Linked DNA regions of Homo sapiens: region 1 is linked to region 2. The links are contacts of gene promoters, found by promoter capture Hi-C in blood cells and fetal thymus (Javierre and others, 2016). All regions are on one chromosome and are shown on one strand. The core of a region is centred on a gene start or on the middle of the fragment in contact, and the rest is flanking DNA. Distances in the headings are between cores, read along the strand shown. Region 1 holds the start of FBXO40 (F-box protein 40). Region 2 holds the start of CD86 (CD86 molecule).

Region 1 (2,945 bases), core at 65-2,564, 460 kb before region 2:
AAAGGTTAATTCGATGGCTGTTAATCACAGCCAAATTTAGCACATCTGCTGTTAGTCAAAATACATTCAAATACATTCAAATAACAGCTGGCATTGTGGAGCACTTGGCATGTGGTACATATCATTCATGTGCCTTATGTGTACTGACACAGTTACCTGTGGTCGCACCAAGTATCATCGCCATTTCACAATGGGGAAAACTGAAATAGAAAATGGTTAAGTAAATTTGTCAAAATCACATACCTAATCCCAGCACTTTGGGAGGCTGAGGTGGGAGGATCATGAGGTCAGGATTTCGAGACCAGCGTGACAAACATGGTGAAACCCCGTCTCTGCTAAAAATACAAAAATTAGCCAGGTATGGTGGTACGTGCCTGTAATCCCAGATACTCAGGAGGCTGAGGCAGGAGAATCACTTGAAGCCAGGAGGTGGAGGTTGCAGTGAGCCGAGATCACGCCACTGCACTCTATCCTGGGCAACAGAGCGAGACTCTGTCTCAAAAAAAAAAAAAAGAAAAAGAAAACACCAAAGCCGGGATTCTATATTTTTTTCACTCACAAGATCCTGAATGAGTTTATCTGAAGATGATAAGATAAAGAACGCTAGACTGAGAGTTAAACAAGCTCTCTGGGGCTTTCCTCTGGCTCTTCCACTAACGAGATGTGTGACCTTGGATGAGCAATTTCCCTTTTCTGAATCTCTGTCTCCTCATCTGTAAAAAGAGGGAGCTGGACTAAATGACAGCTAAAGCCTCCTACAACCTCTAATTCTCTCACACTGGATTTACTCTACACCTGGTATCTGAATTACAAACTCTCCCTTTTCCAGGAAAGATGAAAGGACCAGGGGAGGACAGACACTTACTTGTCACGACAAGAGATAGGAGAAACTGAAGCAGGACACCATGTCATTTGCACAAGTTGCTGCTTCAGCCAGTGATGGGTTTAGGTGAGGAGCATGGTTATAATTAGAGCAGCAGCCAGTCCTGAAGGCTGTGCCAGCCTCCTTCAGCACAGCTGGGCCTGCCGACTGCACATGCAGGAATCTGAGAGGCTGTTCTGGCCTTGAAAATGATCCTTCTTAAAAGGATTTTCCTCCTTCCTCAAGGGAAAGAAAACCTATTGATATAAAACTTCACTTCCCATTCAGTTTCCCCTGCTAAATGCCACTCCAGTAGAGACTGAGTGTTGATAAATACAGGGGAAGGAAAAAGTCGTAAGCTGAGCCTGGTCACATTGCCCCTTGTGATATCGTTTTATTTTTAACTTCGCAACACTTGGACTATTTCTGTTGAAGTTTTCTCTCCTTTCCCTGCCTTCCCAACAGAACGCTGTCCTCTACTGCAGCTGATGCAACCCAGCCACCTCCCGGCAATCCGCTTACTTGCAATCAAGGGTTCAGGTGCAAGCAGATGCTGACTCAGCCTGTTCCATTAAGGTAAGTATTCAAACAGGAGCAGGTGCACCATGACGAGGACATTCAGTGGTGAATATGCAGATGAAGCTGAGCCGCATATCACTTTTGTGTCCTGTGGAAGAGGATTGTTAAGCAAATTAGTTATGTAAAGATGTGGGGGAAAGGCTGGCACTGAGAATGAGATCCAGCCGTGTGTAAATTTCTGTTTCCATTTCAAGAGCAGGTAGAGTACTTGCTTTCTGACAGCTTAGGTTCTTTCTTCTATAATCAACAAGAGTAGTTATGATATCTGTAAAGTTACAACATGGTGATGGGTGGGGGGATCTGGGGAAGTGGAGGAGGTGGTGAGGAAACAAGTGGAAGGCCTAGAATCCAGGATTTCTATTCCCTTTTCTTTCTTTTTTGAGACAGTCTTGCTCTGTCACCCAGGCTGGAGTGCAGTGGCACCATCTTGGCTCACTGCAGCCCCTACCTCCCAGGTTCTAGTGATTCTCCTGCCTCAGCCTTCCGAGTAGCTGAGACTACAGGCACATGCCACCACATCCGGCCAATTTTTGTATTTTTTTAGTAGAGACAGAGTTTCACCTTGATGGCTAGGCTGGTCTTGAACTCCTGGCCTCAAATGATCCGCCCACCTCAGCCTCCAAAAGCGCTGGGATTACAGGTCTGAGCCACTGTGCCTGGCCCAGAATTTCTATTATTTATTTATTTATTTAATTCATTGTTATTATTTTTTTGAGACAGAGTCTCACTCTGTTGCCCAGGCTGGAGTGCAGTGGTGCAGTCTCAGCTCACTGCAACCTCCACCTTCTAGGTTCAAGAGAGCCTCCTGCTTCAGCCTCCTGAGTAGCTGGGACTACAGGCCTGTGCCACCACGCCTGGCTAATTTTTGTATTTTTAGTAGAGATGGGGTTTCACCATGTTGGCCAGGCTGGTCTTGAACTCCTGGCCTCAAGTGATCCACCCGCTTCGGCCTCCCAAAGTGCTGAGAATACAAGCATGAGCCGCTGTGCCTGATCAGAATTTCTGTTTTCTAAAGTCTAAATGCTGTGATCTTTTCTCCAGTCAACATTTGCTATGTTTGCTTGCAAGTCATTCTCATGTAGCTTAAAATTTCGTCTGCTGTGTCATACTACTGGTTAATAAGCACAACTGTATTTTCTGTATATACTATTCAAACTCCGCAGAGTTTAACACCTTTTTTTCGCCAACAATATTCTCTAAGTGTGGCCCTCTTCTCCCCAGCTCTCTTGAGTCCAAAATGCATCCATGAAATATAAGTGAAATATTTCTCAAGTTGAAAAACTTATATAGGCTTATGCACCAAAACCAAAGATTGTTACAAGCTTGAACAATTTTGCATATTCAGAGGGATAAAAGTAAAATGACTAATGATACTTGAGGTATCAAAAGTTATAACTTTAGACAGATAGTTTCTCGCTTCTGGAATAACTGTATAGTGTTGCATGCACTAAAAATTGGCAAGGTAAGGGAGCAGTGTTTATTTTCTTGTTTTTCACTGGTTCAA
Region 2 (2,920 bases), core at 171-2,670:
ATAAATACTATTTTATTTGCACTCCTGCTCTGCAATAATTTTGAAGATAGATAACTTATATTATTGCTGTCTTCATTTTTTAAAATTCTCAAATCCAGATGAAATTATCAAAGTTGATAAAATAATCATTGTTCTATCTTCTTATTTGAAGATTAATAATTGTGTTGATTTTGCTTCCTTGCTCTAGTTAGCAGTGATGTCATCTGCTATTTTTAAACTTCCTTGAAATAATATATGTAATCTACTTCTAATAAGTTTTTCTTATTTAGCATTTTGGTCTAAACTAATTTATAATTATTTAGCCTTATTTCTCCATGTTTAACTTGCTTTAAAGCTCAGCACTGGTGTTTTCAGCCATGGCTTCTCCATTTTAAGGCTATTTTAATTCATTTATTATTCTGGAATATATCCTTAAATAATTTATTTAGGAAGGCTGTCTTGGTGGTGGTATTTCTGTTGCAGTTGTTGTTTTCTTGCCTGCTTGGTGACATATTTCTATTGACTTGACACTTAACTGGCATCTTATCTAGGTAGATAATGCTAATTCAAAATTCTGCAGATATTGTTCTGTTGTTTTTTGCCATTTAGGGTTGAGTAAGATGCCAAGTTGTTTTTTGTTTCTCTGTAGTCATTCTGTTTTCATTTTGTTTTTAGCTTTGCCTTTGGAATTTAAAATGTTCAAAATGATTTGTCTGGATGAGAATCGATTTTCATAACTTTTGCTTTGATACACTAAACAGTTTGAGTTTCTAGATGATGCCCATTTTAATTCATACGAGGAAATATCTTCTAGTATAGTTTCTGCTTGATTAATTCTATGTTTGTCTCTTAGGGACATCTATTAATTTTATAATGCTGCCTTTTTTTCAGACTTCTGTTTCAGAATATTCGCTTTCATCAATGTAATCCTTGGCTATAGTAGGAATGAAATAATAAAAGCAGTAGCTTCTGTCTGCCCTCCTTGGTTATGCAGTCCTTACAGAACATCTCCCCATCTCCCATCCCCCCACCCCAGCTCAGTGAAACTCTCCACACTTTGGTTGTGGAAATTGGCAGGGTTAGGTGGCTACTCACTCCCAATCCACATCCACAATAAATCACTTTTTATTATCTTATCAAAATCTGTAGAATGCCTCTTTATTCTATTTTGTTGCTGCGGAGGTTTGTTTTCTCTTTCTAATTATTTTATTTTCTAGGTTTTTTGAGGGAATTTCAAGAGGGGAGATTTTTTATTCAGGCTCATCTTAACGTCATGTCTGGAACTCAAGCTACTGAATTATATATTCTTTAATACATATAGACCTACGTCAATGAGTTTAAACTGCAAGGAAAGGGTTAAATTTCTTCCTCAAGTGTGGTCAAAATCTGTAGAGAAAAGAGGAACAGCTTCTCTTAAAGAAAGTTAGCTGGGTAGGTATACAGTCATTGCCGAGGAAGGCTTGCACAGGGTGAAAGCTTTGCTTCTCTGCTGCTGTAACAGGGACTAGCACAGACACACGGATGAGTGGGGTCATTTCCAGATATTAGGTCACAGCAGAAGCAGCCAAAATGGATCCCCAGTGGTGAGTAATAATTCTTATTCTTTGCAGAGAAGTTATGAGTTGTGACTGCAGTGAAAGGCTGAGGTTGAAGATGGTGCTTTGATGTGTGTCCTTCACTTAGTTCCTAAGTGGAGAAGCTTTCTTTTTCTACAAAAGATCTTTGGCACATAAAGGCAAGAATTATTTGCAATGCCCAAAGCAGTTCATTGGTGGTAGTTATATATATTTTTAGGTGCCTAATTTTGGTTTTGTAAATCTGTTATTCAAATACTGAATGTTACAGTCATTGATTTTAGTGAAGAATCAGGAATTTTTAAAATATCTGCATAAGAATGACAAATAACAGGGAATATGTTTTTTGTCTACCAGGGTCAGTTTGGTCTGAGGGTGGAGGAATGAGATAGAGAAGGTAGAGGGAGAGAGATCAAGAAAAAGAAAGAGAAAAAAGAGGTATAAGGAGAAAATGCAAAACTCAGTTAATATGTCATAATCAGGCCATGGGAGATTCTGGGCAGGGTTGGGTAGTGGAAGGAGGTAGAGTGATTAAATTAGTTACCATGTATTGAACATGCATGATGTGCTGGGTACTTTACTAGTGCTATTTCATTGAATTTTATTCTTCACAATGACTTTTGGAAAGACATCATCATTCTTTTTGACAGATGGGGTAACTGTGGCTTAAAAAACTTGCCCAAGTTCACACTATTCATAAGGGGTAGAGCTAAAATCTTTCCTGCCCGCTTCGTGGTGCGCCAGAAGGTTTCTCCATGCTGTGGAGACTTCCTGGAAGGAGTCACACCCGCCCTTCTCTTGGGTGGTGGCAGCTGGCGCCAGTCACTATGTATTTATTTATTTTTAATTATTTATTTTTGAAACAGAGTCTCGCTCTGTCGCCAAGCTGGAGTGCAGTGGCGCAATCTCAGCTCACTGCAACCTCCGCCTCTCGGATTCAAACGATTCTCCTTCCTCAGTCTCCTGAGTAGCTGGGACTACAGGCGCCCACCACCACGCCCGGCTAATTTTTGTATTTTTGGTAGAGACGGGGTCCACCATGTTGGCCAGGATGGTCTCGATCTCTTGACCTTGTGATCTGGCCACCTCGGCCTCCCAAAGTGCTGGGATTACAGGCGTGAGCCACCGCGCACCCGGCCGTCACTATGTATTTATAATTACTGTTCTTTGAAAATCGAAGTAACTTTCATCTACCCAGTGCTTACTGGTTTGAGAAAAAGCTTTGTTGCTTTTATTTCAGAAGATTAAAATTTAATTTTCCAGTAAAGATTCCTTTTGCTCCAGTGGAATTTTGAAGCGTTATACTTGTATGAAGAAAAAAAGAATTTCAAAATTTATAATTTTTGTGGTACCATAGAGGGGATACT

What was found. Contacts are between HindIII fragments. The CHiCAGO score rates a contact against its expected background, and 5 or more counts as called.
Region 1: the fragment with the promoter of FBXO40 here is called in contact with the fragment with the promoter of CD86 in region 2 in 8 of 17 cell types (naive CD8 T cells, endothelial precursors, erythroblasts and 5 more); the score reaches 11.1 in naive CD8 T cells.

What each region holds. Positions count from the first base shown.
Region 1 is chr3:121,592,065-121,595,009 of GRCh38, forward strand. It overlaps FBXO40 (F-box protein 40), which reads left to right and starts at 1,315. Exons shown (of 4, transcript NM_016298.4): 1 at 1,315-1,438. RefSeq lists enhancers at 672-1,871, 685-1,335, 1,336-1,987 and a silencer at 1,258-1,552. The HindIII fragment of the contact is 3,467 bases long and covers 1-2,761 here.
Region 2 is chr3:122,053,942-122,056,861 of GRCh38, forward strand. CD86 (CD86 molecule) reads left to right here and starts at 1,421. Exons shown (of 7, transcript NM_175862.5): 1 at 1,421-1,562. The coding sequence starts at 1,549. It also overlaps a transcript of ILDR1 not described here. The HindIII fragment of the contact is 6,821 bases long and covers 1-1,453 here.